2 separate regions of the Homo sapiens genome follow, and region 2 is linked to region 1. Evidence: promoter capture Hi-C in human tissues and cell types (Jung and others, 2019). All regions are on one chromosome and are shown on one strand. The core of a region is centred on a gene start or on the middle of the fragment in contact, and the rest is flanking DNA. Distances in the headings are between cores, read along the strand shown.

What was found. Contacts are between HindIII fragments. The study calls those that stand out against the background at their distance.
Region 2: a fragment that was not itself captured here is called in contact with the fragment with the promoter of CYB5B in region 1 in 2 of the 25 tissues and cell types used here (heart left ventricle and liver).

Annotation. Positions count from the first base shown.
Region 1 is chr16:69,419,274-69,426,192 of GRCh38, reverse strand. CYB5B (cytochrome b5 type B) reads right to left here and starts at 1,574. Exons shown (of 5, transcript NM_030579.3): 1 at 1,336-1,574. The coding sequence starts at 1,509. RefSeq lists enhancers at 1,196-1,743, 1,744-2,291. The HindIII fragment of the contact is 13,364 bases long and covers 1-6,919 here.
Region 2 is chr16:69,501,887-69,508,965 of GRCh38, reverse strand. No RefSeq gene overlaps it. Among named protein-coding and RNA genes, the nearest start is that of MIR1538, 60 kb to the left of the region's middle. The HindIII fragment of the contact is 5,426 bases long and covers 1,379-6,804 here.

The sequences.
Region 1 (6,919 bases), core at 325-2,824:
CTCCTGACGTCGTGATCCGCCCGTCTCGGCCTCTCAAAGTGCTGGGATTACAGGCGTGAGCCACCGCGCCCGACCGGAAAGCACTTTTAAAAGCATAAAATGCCATACACCATACAAATGCAAGAAGTTAGTAAATTCTGAGTTTGTTAAATTATTGTTCACTATTAAGATTTATTAAAAATAATGTTCTTTGGGGGAAACTTTTAAATTTTAAAAGTTTTTAGAATTAAAAGTCAGGATGCAGAGATTTCTCTTTTAGGCCCCAAATTAATCGAAAAAATATTTCACTAGTATATTTGCTTCAGAGAAATAGAAGTGAACTTTCACAAGTCATTAATCTATTGCTCAAAATAAAATGATCACACACAAACCGAAAATCAAAGCTTCAAACATACACACACCGAAAATCAAAGCTTCAAACCAATCTTTAGCGGCTGCATATCACTAGTTGCCTGGGGTTGGGAGAGAATGACTGCAAAGGGAAAGGAAGCTTTTTAGAATGATGGAAATGGTTTATGTCTTAACATGGATGAATACATTTTTCAAAACTCATCAAAATGTACATTTTAGATAGGCACAATTTACGTATGTACATTACACCTCAATAAAGTTTTAAATATTTAGAAGTCTATCCTGTTTCCTTAAAAAAAAAATTAGTTGCACCATGGTCTCAAAAATAATTTTTAAAATGAGATGTAATGCAACAGACTTGAAGATTAAATAAAACAGTCTTGAATATTTAAGAAAAATGACAAAACATGAGTCAAAAACAAAAAAAAAGGGTTGATTTATGAGTTTCTGGCCTCAAGGTCAACTCAGATTAGGGGGAAAAAAAAACAGTGGAGGCATAATCAAGATGGGGAAGCGTGTGGAGAGAAATCTCAGCTTCTACTCTAGAAGACGAAAACCAAAACCGGTATTACTTCAGAAGGCACACTGGAAAAGCACAGATGTGGGTGCACTTCAGACCTAGGTTCAACGGATCTAAGCTGCTAACTCTATGGCCCTGAGAGTCCTCAACCTGTGAGCCTCAGTTTCCCTTTCTGTAAAATAAAGATAATGATGGCTTAGAGTTTAGCTGAGCACACAGCAAATGCTCGACACATAAGTAATACATGATATTACATAAGGCACCAGAACTCGGAGCTGACTGGAAATGCATGCAAACTAAAGCCCTCCCCCAATCCCACCCCAGTTTCCCTCTGAGGGTCGTGATCCCTTTCTTACGCCTTATCGCCCCCAGCCAAGCCTCCCTTCCTTCCCACATACACTCCACACAGCCTTTTCACCCCTCGCCCCAGCAGCTTCAGAGGCCTCCCACCTCCCAGGCCCCACCTCGTTGAGGAAGCGGGTGACATCGTAGACTCGCCCATGGATCACAAGCCACAGTTCCTTCAAGGAGTTGCGCTTTGCCACCTCCTCCAACCGGTAATAGGTGACTGAGGTCTCGACTTCCTGCCCTTTCCCATCGCTGCCGCTAGCTTCCGCAGTCGCCATTGAACCGGACATACTGCCTCTCCACCGCTAACTGAGATTCCGCGACTACTTTCCTTGAGAGCCCGCGCTCAGCCTTCCTCGGCTTCCGTAACCAGGGCCCATAAGGCCTTGAGACGGTTCCTAGCAACAGCCAATCACACTTCCGAATAGTTCCTGGTTCGTTTTCTTTTCACCAATGAAGGGAGTGGCTCAGTTCGAAATCCCGCCCACTCCTCGCCCGATCCTCCAGATGAAAGTCTGGTTCGAGGTCCAACTAACCAATTAGGGTCGTTCAGCCCCCTCCAACCTCGCCAATCAGATACCGCGATTTTTGGACTGGCGCCCAAAAGAGGCGTGCTGACAGGTGTCACTTCAGGAGAGGTACCACTTCTCTCAGCCTGTGGGCCTTTAGGGTCTCCAGTGTTCTGCTTCCCTTCCCATCGCTGTGGCTTTCTCCTGAGTCTCAGAAAGTTCCTATCCCCTACACTACCGGCGCAGCCTGTATCCCAACCCTGATTTTACATCTTTGCTGCCTCCAGGTCGTGATCTGGCCAATCCCGTCTCTCCTCAATTTCCCCATCAGTAAAATGGGCTTGATAAAGCACTCTCTTACAGAGGGGTTTGCCTTTTTTTTTTTTTTTTTTTTTTTTGAGACAAGTTCTCGCTCTGTCTCCTAGGCCAGAGTGCAGTGGCACGATCTCGGCTTACTGCAAACTCCGCCTCCCAGGTTCAAGCGATTCTCCTACCTCAGCCTCTCGACTAGCTGGAACTACAGGCATGCGCCACCACGCCCGGCTAATTTTTGTATTTTTAGTAGAGAGTAGGTTTCACCATGTTGGCCAGGCTGGTCTCGAACTCCTGACCTCAGGTGATCCGCCTGCGTAGGCCTCCCAAAGTGCTGGGATTACAGGCGTGAGCCACCGCGCCTGGCCCGGTTTGCCTATTTTAATGAGAGTGCCTGTAAAGCGCTTGGCGCATAGTAATCGCTAAACATGGCAGTCGATTAGAAAGGCAATTGCTGTCCCGGACAGCAATTGGGGGTAGAATGTGGAGTATCCTATGTTTCTACCATCATTCAGAATCCGATTTTCAAACGAATTCTGTGATGATCAGGATCAATCGGCACTATTTTAGTCTCTACGTGATCTAAAATAGAATTGAACTCAACTGCTCTCCGCTAGAGGTCCCAGCACTTTGGAATTCCAAGTTTGGTTAAGGTACAGTGTTGTGCGCCACTTTTTAACTGCCATTACAACTGACAGATTGCTCTTCCTATGATGTCGTCGTTTTCATCCTGTCACTCTCGCAGTCTACCATTCAGGGCTCTCCACAATCCATTCGCAACCTCTTTCACTAACGTATAATATTTTCCACCATTCCCTTTATAAGCCTGTTGCACCCGCCCCGACTCTGAAACCTGCTGGTTTAAAACCACATCCGTGGTCATCCCAGGTCCACCAAGTTAATTTTAGATCACTTAGAGACTAAAATAGTGCAGATTGATCCTGATCATCACAGAATTCATTTGAAAATCGGATTCTGAATGGTGGTAGAAACATGGGATACTCCACATTCTACCCTCAATTGCTGTCCCAAGGACTCCTCTTCCTTTCAATGCCTACCGGCTTTTCAAGTTCCTCTTCAGTTTCTTCTATTTTCAAACTTCTCCTACCGTTTTGAGCTCCAGTGCTTCCATCCCTTTGTAGTACCTAAGAAAGCATATTACTATTTTGGGAAGCCTGCTACGTCTGTAAATTTTAACTTTACGTATTTTACCTCCCTAGTTAGACTGACACTATGAGAGCAATCTCACAAGATTCTTAGGATCCTCCACAAACTCTAGATTCAAATATTTACATTTATTCCAGACATTTACTATTTACTGTTACAAGTCTTATGATAGGCATTGGGAGTAGAGAGATAACATAAGAAACAAAATCTCTGAAAGAAATAAAAACATTTACAGGCTGAATGTGGTGGCTCAAGCCCCGTAATTCCAGCACTTTGGGAGGCCGAGGTGGACAGATCACTTGAGCCCAGGAGTTCAAGACCAGGCTGGGCAACATAGTGAGGCTCTTGTCTCTTCAAAAAATACAAAAATTATCTACGCATGGTGGCACACAACTGTAATCCCAGATATTTGAGAGGCTGAGATCTGGGGATGGCTTGAGCCTGGGAAGTCGAGGCTGCAGTGATGTATGATCGCACCACTGTGCTCCAGCCTGGATGACAGAGCGAAACCCTGTTTCAAAAAAATAAAAATAAATAAATAAAAATAAAAAATAAAAAAATTACAAATTCTAGCACTTAAGTGATATATACCTGTAACATTATATTTGAAAATGTTTTTAGAATTTCAAATAAGTAAGTTACAAGAATAATACAATGAATGACCATATACTTTTAGCTTAGGTTTACCAACTGTTAATATTTTTCAATATTTGATTTTTTCCATATTATTTTGATCATTGTTGTTAATAATGCTGAACTATTTCAGATATCACCACCCTTTACAGCCAAATAATTCTACATGTATCTTCTAAAAATAAGAACATATTGTCACGTAACTGCAGTATGAATTTCAAATTCAGAGAATTTAACATTCACACAAAATTATTATCTAACATACTCTCCATATTATTTTCCATTATTGCATTCATGTCCTTTGTGAAATTTTAGTGTGCCTGTATGACCCAGGATCCAGTTCAGGATCATGTATTGCACTTAGCTAAGTCTCTTGAGTCCCCTTTAATCTAGAACATTTCCTTAACTTTGCTTTTGCTTTCATGACATTGACATTTTTAAATAGTATAGCCTCAAATTGAATTTTACACTGAAAAATTATTGTGACCTAAATGTTTTGGTTATAAATTTATATTTACAATTGATAGCACATGTTAGCCAGAAAGTCTGGCTTGGAATACCTGTCCCTGCCACTCACAAACTTGGTGACCTTGGGCAGGTTTCTTAGCCTCTTTTTTTCCATGTGGATACCCACTTGTTCCTGCACCATTTGATGAAAACACAATTCCCCCTTGAATTGTTTTCCTGTATCTGTCGAAAATTGATTGATCATATAAGTGTGGTTCTCCTTCTGAAATTTCTACTCTGTTCCGATGACTTATTTGTTTATCCTTGTGCCAATTCCACAGTCTTGATTATTGTAAGGCACTAAATCAGGTAATATAAGTCTTATAGCTTTGCTCTTAACTTTTGAAAATTATTTTTGCTATTCTAGATCCTTTGTATTTCCACATACATTTTTTTTTTTCACTCTCATCACCCAGACTGGATGGAGTGCAATGGCACAATCTCAGCTCACTGCAACCTACACCTCCCGGGTTCAGAGTAGCTGGGATTACAGGCCCCCACCACCACACTTGGCTAATTTTCATATTTTTAGTAGAGAGGGGGTTTCACCATGTTGGCCAGGCTGGTCTCAAACTCCGGACCTCAGGTGATCCGCCCACCTCGGCCTCCCAAAGTGCTGGGATTACAGGCATGAGCCACCATGCCCGGCCCCACACACAATTTAAAATCAGCTTGTTGACCAAGTGATCAAATTAAAACATCTCCATAATAAATCATGTTGACAGCATGTACCCCCGGTGTGATGTGATGAAAAGGGCATGTTGCCACTGTGGCATTCTTCCACAAAATCCATAACCATAGTCCAAGCATGGGAAAAACATCAGGTAAACCCAAACTGAGGGACATTCTACATAATGCCTGACCAGTACTCCTCAAAACTGACAAGCTCATAAAAAAAAAAAAAAAAAAAGGAAAGATTGAGAAATTGTCACAGACTCAAGTAAACTAAGGAGACATGACAATTAAACGCAGTATAGTATCCTGGACTGGATCCTAGAACAGAAAAAGGGCACTGGGGAAGAATTAGTGAAATCCAAATAAAACAGTAAGGTGCCAGTGTTGATTTCTTACTTTTGACAAACATATTATGGTAATGTAAAATGCTATCTTTATGGAAAATTGAGTGAGTATACAGAAACTCATTGTATTATTTTTGCAACTTTTCTGTAAATCTAAAATTATTACAAAAAAAGTTATTATTTTTTGCTGGGCACTGTGGCTCATTCCTGTAATCCCAGCACTTTGGAGGCTGAGGCACAAGGATTGCTTGAGCTCAGGAGTTCAAGACCAACCTCGACAACATAGCAAGACCTCATCTCTTTTTTTTTGAGACGAGTCTCACTCTGTCACCCAGGCTGGAGTGCAGTGGCATGATCTAGGCTCAGTACAACCTCCGCCTCCCGGGTTCAAGCAATTCTCCTGACTCAGCCTCCTGAGTAGCTGGGATTACAGGTGCCCACGACCATGCCCAGCTAATTTCTTTGTATTTTTAGTAGAGACAGGGTTTCACCATGTTGGCCAGGCTGGTCTTGGACTCCTGACCTCAGGAGATCCGCCTACCTCGGCCTTCCAAAATGCTGAGATTACAAGCGTGAGCCACTGTGCCTGGCCTGCAAGACCTCATCTCTTTAAAAAAATGTAAAAATTAGCTGGGCATGGTGGTGGGCACCTATAGTCTCAGCTGCCTGGGAGGCTGAGGCAGGAGGATTGCTTGAACCCAGGAGTTGGAGGCTACAGTGAGCTATGATTGTGCCACTGCACTGCAGCCCGGGTGGCAGAGTGAGACCCTGTTTCTAGAAGAAAAAAAAAAAAATCAGCTTCTTAATTTTACAAAAGTGCTTATAGATGAATTTACAGAAAAAAGACACCTTAAAAACCTTACATTTCATGAACCATTTACTTCAGTTTAATTTGTAGTTTTCAATGTAGACATCTTTAGCATCTTTTATTAAATTTATTTCTAAATGTTTCGTTTTTTAATGCCCCTATAAATGAAATTATTTCATTTTCCAATTGTTTGCTGCCAGTCTAGATAAATATAATTGATTTTGTACATTGACTTACTATCTTATACCTTGCCAAATTCACTTATAGTTCCTGTAATTATTTTATGGATTTCTTAGAATTATCTATGTAATAAATATGTCGTCTGCTAATAGAGACAGCTTTGCTTCCACCTTTCTTCCCAATCTGTATGCCTCTTTTTTCCTTGCCTTGTTGCACTGGCTAGGACTTTCAGTACAGTGTTGAATAGAAATGGTGAAGTTAGCATCCCTGTCTTGTTCCTAATCTTAGGAGGAAAGCATTCAGTCTTTCACAATTTAATATAATTTTTCAGTAGATGTCTTTTATCAGCTTGAGGATCTTGAGGATCTAGTTTCCTGAGTTTGTTTTATTTTTATTTTGTTTTTATTAAGAAAGGGTGTTGAATCCTGTTGAATATTTTTTCTTTTCTTTTCTTTTCTTTTTTTTTTTTTTTTTTTTTGGTTGTTGTTGTTGTTGTTGAGACAGGGTTTTGCTCTGTGGCCCAGGCTGAAGTGCAGTGGCACGATCACAGCTCACTGCAGTCTCA
Region 2 (7,079 bases), core at 2,842-5,341, 80 kb before region 1:
AGCAACATGGCAAGACCTCATCTTAACCAAAAAAAATGTTTTTAAATAGACAGGCATAGTGGTGTACACTTGTAGTCCCAGCTACTCAGGAGGCTAAGGCAGGAGGATCCCTTGAACCCAGGAGTTTGAGGCTGCAGTGAGCTATGATCACACTATTGCCCTCCAGCCTGGCTGGCCAATGAATACCCGGTCTCGATTTTTTCAAAATTGACAAGCATTATTAAGGCTTAATGTGTACTTTTAATTGTTTGGGTTTCCATAGGACTTTCAGGCATCTTACTTTTCAGCCAAGGAACGTGAAGACTTGGCAAGAAGACCCACTCCCCCCGCATTGGGTCTATGGAGTCTGCTTAATCTGTGATACCACCTGGAAAAGTTGCTTACCAGCCAGATGCTGCCACACATGCCCCATGATGAGATAAACAAGGCAAAACACAGAGAGGCTGAAAAAGCTTCCTCTCACCATCAGTGATGCCAGGAAAAGACAGCATTTCCTGAGCCCCATGTTGCTCAGGTCACCAAAGCTGGGCATGTCTGGGGCAGGTGATATGGCAGCTGCTTCTAGCTTTCCCTAGGAAGGATTCATGCAGATCTGTAGACCCAGGACTAAATAAGGCATGTGAAGCACTTGCCTCAAGTGCAAAATTTAAGCGGGTGCCCAAAAACCCAATCAAGATAATATCTTAATACCATGTGAAAAACAAAGTTAATGCAAAAAAATCTATGATGAACAAAATATCAAACTTTTAAATAAGACAGACTTTGCATTCGCATGACTCACATCACTTACCACCCCCCTAATCTCAGCCCTGTTGGATCCTGCCTTTACTGAAAATGTTGATGTTTTGCTCATCATGGATTTTTCTGCATTAATTTTGATTTTTAAAAATATTGCATAAAAATGGCACTTATCTTGATTAATAGTGGGGTTTGGGGCACACTTAATTTTGCAGTTGCCTCACCCCAGTCCCATTCCGGAAGATCATTATGGACCTCTTCACAATCTTCCTTGCTACACCCCCATCCCCACCAGAAGAAATCCCCCCAGCCTACTTTGATGATAGCAAGGCATTTTTTTCATACATAAAAATAAAACATTGACTGGTGACACTAATGACAGCCAAGTGAGGGGTTTGGGTAAGTTCTTGGCATAGTTCACTTAGCAGTTTTATAAATAGGAGTTCTAACAGACTTCTGGATCCCAGAGTAAAAAAATTCACCAATTAAAATGATCCTAAATTTCCTCATTTCGACATAAGACACCAAGAACAAGATTAAGAAATACAAGAAATCTGAGTATTTTTAATGTCTGTTATAATGCACATTAATGTATTTGTTTTGAATTTGGGGCTGCAAGTGGATAGAATAATGAAATCTCGGATCTTATATTTTGTGGCAGAAGATGGCCAGCATGGTGCCATTCGTAAGATATTTCACACCTTTTCTTCAATCCTATTGTGTGTCTGCAGAGGCAACATGGAACAGTACTGGGGATCCCAGTTATGTGTATTACCCATATCAACCTGAACAAGTTACTAATTATCCATTCGGTCTCACTTTCCTCATGTGCAAAATGGGACGACAATTTACCTTAAATAAAGGTTAAAAAACATTTTATAGGCCAGGCATGGGGGTTCACTCCTGGAATCTCATTACTTTGGGAGCCTGAGGCAGTAGGATTGCTTGAGGCCAGGAGCTCAATAACAGCCTGGGCAACATAGCGAAACCTTGTCTCTACAAAAAATACAAAAATTAGCTGGGCATGATGACATACACTTGTAGTCCCAGCTACTCGGGAGGCTGAGGCAGGTGGATCACCTGAGCCCAGGAGTTAGGGGCTGCAGTGAGCTGATTATCCCTTTGCACTCCAGCATGGGTGACAGAGCAAGACCCTGTGTCTAAAACGAAAACAAAACAAAAAACAAGTCTTCATGTCTCTCTCCTTTATTTATGCTAAATAATTACAGGCTATCTCGATTATCCTTGGTCTCTAAAATTATAAAAGTTAATTCTGAACAATAAAAAATTATTATTATTATCTTTTAGACATATGAGCTCATTCTCTCTCTCAGGCTGGAGTACAGTGGCTCAGTCACAGCTCAGCTCACTGCAGCCTTGACCTCCCAGGCTCAAGCAATACTCCCACCTCAGCCTCTTGAGTAGCTGGAACCACAGGCACGCATCACCACACCTGGCTAATTTTTGTACTTTTTTTTTTTTTGAGATGGAGTCTTGCTCTGTTGCCCAGGCTGGAGTACAGTGGTGCTATCTCGGCTCTCTGCAACCTCTGCTTGAGGTTCAAGCTTGTACCCAGGTTCAAGCGATTCTCCTGCCTCAGCCTCCTGAGTAGCTAGCTGGGACTATAGGCACACACTACCACGCCTGGCTAATTTTTATATTTTTAGTAGAGAGGGAGGTTTCACCATGTTGGCCAGGCCAGTCTTAAACTCCTGACCTCAGGTGATCCACCCACCTCAGCCTCCCAAAGTGCTGGGATTACAGGTGTGAGCCACCACACCCGGCCAATTTTTGTATTTTTTGTGAAGACGGGGTTTCACCATGTTGCCCAGCCTGGTCTTGAACTCTTGAGCTCAAGTGATCCGCCTGTCTCATCCTCCCAAAGTCCTGGGATTACAGGTGTGAGCCACTGCACCCAGCTAAAGAATTATTTCTAAAGAACATTTTGAATGAGGAGACAGGAATAAGTAGGATCAGATTTTATTTTGAAAGTAATAATTACAAAACTTTTTGGAACCCCACATATTGGTATGTATAAATGAAATGGAACCATTTTTTATCTGTAATTCCAGGGAGTTCACAACAAATGCCCTGGGCTAAAACATCAGCAATCTGAGTTGATTTTTTAAAATCTGGTCTTAACACCTGGGCTACAGCTTCAGTGGGTCAAGGCTGCTCTTGACAATGGCTGTCATTCTCAGACGAGAGAAGCATCATATTCTCACCAGGACTTAATTAGGAATCTGGATTCTATTAATACTATTAATTTCTTCCCCAAAGGCAAGAAAATCTTGGGATTACAATTCATGATTCTCATTGTACAGTGTCTAGTAGGTTAGAATTATTCTTTCATTATTTTGCTCCTCCCTGTCTTTGTCTTTTCTTTTTTTCTTTTTTTTTTTTTTTTTTTTTTGAGACAGGGTCTTGCTCTGTCACCCAGGCTAGAGTGCAGTGGCACAATTTTGGCTCATTGCAACCTCTGCCTCCTAGGTTCAAGCGATTCTTCTGCCTCAGCCTCCCAAGTAGCTGGGATTACAGGTACCCACCACCATGCCTGGCTAATTTTTGTATTTTTAGTAGAGAAGGGTTTTACCATCTTGGCCAGGCTGGTCTCGAACTCCTGACCTTGTGATCCACCCGTGTCGGCCTCCCAAAATGCTTAGATTACAGGCATAAGCCACTGTGCCTGGCCGCCTTTTTTTTTTTTTTTGCCCACCCCCAGTTGGGAGTCTTGCTCTGTTACCCGGGCTGGAGTGCAGTGGCGTGATCACAGCTCCCTGTAGCCTCAACTCCTGGGCTCAAGCGATCCTTCTGTCTCAGCTTCCCGAGTAGCTAGGACTACAGGCACATGCCAATCACCACATCTGGCTACTTTTTGTATTTTTTGTAGAGATGGGATCTCACTGTGTTGCTCAGACTGGTCTCCTGGACTCAAGCAATCCACCTGCCTCAGTCTCTCAAAGTACTGAGATTACAGGCATGAGTCAATGCGCCTGGCCCCACATTTCCTTTATTCATTCATCAGTTGATGGACATTTGGGTTGTTTTCATTTTTTGGCTATTATGAATAATGTTGCTATGAACATTCGGGTACAAGTTTTGGTGTGGACTTTTCTTTTTTTTTTTTGGAGACGGAGTCTCGCTCTATCACCCAGGCAGAAGGGCAGTGGCGCGATCTTGGTTCAATGCAACCTCTGCCTCCCGGGTTCAAGCGATTCTCCTGCCTCAGCCTCCTGAGTAGCTGGGATTACAGGTGTGCACCACCATGCCCAGCTAATTTTTGTATTTTAGTAGAGATGGGGTTTCACCATGTTGGTCAGGCTGGTCTGGAACTCCTGACCTCAAGTGATCTGCCTGCCCTCGGCCTCCCAAAGTGCTGGGATTACAGGCTTGAGCCATCACATCTGGCTGACATGTTTTCATTTCTCTTTGGCATATGCCTAGGAGTTAAATTTCTGGGTCATGTGCCTCTTTATACTTTTCTTTTCTTTTCTTTTTTTTGAGGCAGAGTCTCGCTCTGTCGCCCATGCAGGAGTGCTGTGGCGCGATCTCGGCTCACTGCAAGCTCCGCCTCCCGGGTTCACGCCATTCTCCGGCCTCAGCCTCCTGAGTAGCTGGGACTACAGGCGCCCACCACCATGCCCGGCTAATTTTTTGTATTTTTAGTAGACAGGGGGTTTCACCGTGTTAGCCAGGATGACCTCGATCTCCTGACCTTGTTATTCGCCCGCCTCGGCCTCCCAAGTGCTGGGATTATACGCGTGAGCCACCGCGCCCAGCCCTATACTTTTCTTTTTTTTCTTTTTCTTTTTGAGACAGAATCTTGTCGCCCAGGCTGGAGTGCAGTGGTGTGATCTTGGCTCACTGCAACCTCCACCTCCAGGGTTCAAGTGATTCTCCTGTCTCAGCCTCCCGAGTAACTGAGATTACAGGCATGGACCACCACACCTGGCTAATTTTTGTATTTTTAATAGAGATGGGGTTTCACCATGTTGGCCAGGCTGGCCTCCAACTCCTGACCTCAAGCAATCTGCCTGCATCAGCCTCCCAAAGTGCTGGGATTATTGGCGTGAGTCACCGCGCCCGACCTCTCTTTATACTTTTCAAGAGAATCATATGAATTACCTACTGCTGTGTAGAAAATTGCCCCAAAACTTTATGGCTTAAGATAACAATAATAATAATAATAATATATAATAATAAGATAACAAGAGTTTCACTCCTGTTGCCCAGGCTGGAGTACAGTGGTGCGATCTCGGCTCACTGCAATCTCTGCCTTCCGAGTTCAAGCGATTCTCCTGCCTCAGCCTCCCGAGTAGCTGGGATTACAGGTGCCTGCCACCACGCCTGGCTAATTTTGTATTTTTTGTAGAGACAGGGTTTCTCCATGTTGGTCAGGCTGGTCTCAAACTCCCGACCTCAGGTGATCCACCTGCCTTGGCCTCCAAAGTGCTTGGATTACAGGCGTGAGCCACTGTGCCTGGCAGAAAACAATAATTATTATCACTCACAGTTTCTGAGGGTCAGGTGTTTGGAGCCCTCCAGGTTGCTCGTGAGGCTGCAGTCAGATGCTGGTCAGTGTGGCAAGGATCCGAAGGCTTGGCCTGGAGCTAGAGGATCCACACTGAAGGTGGTTCACTCACATAGCTGGCAAGTTGGTGCCAGCTATTGGCTGGGCGCCTCAGGTCCTGTCCACATGGACACCTGAGTATGCTCAAAGAACTTGGCTTCCTCCAAAACAAGCTAGACAAGAGATGAGTGTGGAAGCTGCATTATCTTTTATGACTAAGCATCGGATGTCACACCCAGTCACTGTCACCCTATTGTATTGTTCATGTATGCCAGCCCTGATTCATAGGAAAGGGACTACAGGAAGAGGTGGATACCAGGGGTGGTAGGATCAGCAGGGACCATCTTGGTGTCCCATCCAAGTACTAACGAGGCCCATCCTTGCTTAGCTTCCAAGAAAAGATGTGATCAGGATGGGCGTGATGGGTAGTGCCTGTAATCCCAGCACTTTGGGAGGCCGAGGCAGGCAGATCACAAGTTCAGGAGATCGAGACCTCCTGGCTAACAGGGTGAAACCCCATCTCTACTAAAAATACAAAAAATTAGCTGGGTGTGGTGGCGGGCACCTGTAGTCCAGCTACTCGGGAGGCTGAGGCAGGAGAATCGCTTGAAGCAGGGAGGCTGCAGTGAGTCGAGATTGTGCCACTGCACTCCTGGGTGACAGAGTGAGACTCCGTCTCAAAACAAAACAAACAAACAAAAAAAGATGAGATCAGATGCATTCAAGGTGCTATGGCCGTAGACCGGGATCATCCTGGAGGCTGGCTGATTTCAAACAGGTTGATTTCAAGGCTCTGTTCTCTTATTCCTGAGGAAATAATCCAGATGTATACACCCCAGGCTGGAGATCAAAAATTACATGTCTGCTGAGCACCTGTAATCCCAGCTCTTTGGGAGGTCGAGGCAGGAGGATCACTTGAGCCCAGGAGTTCAAGACCAGTCTGGGAAACATAGAGACTCCAACTCTTTTTTTTTTTAATAAAAATAAACAATTTTTTTTAATTACATCTCAAAATTGGCCAAGTCCTGACAGCAGGATCTGTCAGGATCTGTGATTTGCTTCCTCTTCTTGGTGAATTGAACAGCCTGCAGTGGAAAGTCCTATCTCTCCTGCTGGGGAATTTGAGGAGAAAGAGAACCTTAGTGCACTATGTAATAGAAATAAGATAATGAAGTCCAAGACTGCATGTTGCCCTTGGGCTGACACAGCCTGAAAGAGCCAGCCCTTTGTCTCTCTATCTACAGCAGCAAAACCTTCCTGGAATGTCATTTGAGTTATTCCACCCAGTGGTCCAATTCACTTTCTCTCCTGGCACATCAGCAAGTTACTTATTAAGCATCTACTGTGTACCCAAGAGCAAATCCCAGGATCATTTGAGACTAGTGTAGATGGATAAGCCAGAACTGCCCAGGCATGACCAAAATAGATGTTGTCAAACCCACCTGTCCGGAGGCTTCAAAGGCAAGGAACTGAAAAGTATTTCTTTCCTTTTTTTTCCCCCTGAGTTAGCATTTAGAGAAGTCACAGCCACGAGAATGCTTTCAGATTTACTTTCATTTAGAAAACTCCCAAGGACATGAGAGACAAAGAAAGATTGAGCAACACTTCTAGATGAAAGAAGAGTAATAGCACCTGACAACAACATGTAATGCGCATCCTGATTGTAGCCTGGACTGAGAAAAAATAGCTGTAAGATACGTGATTGGAAACTGGTGAAATTTGGCATACCAATTATAGATTAGATAACAGTATTCAGTATTAGATAACAGGA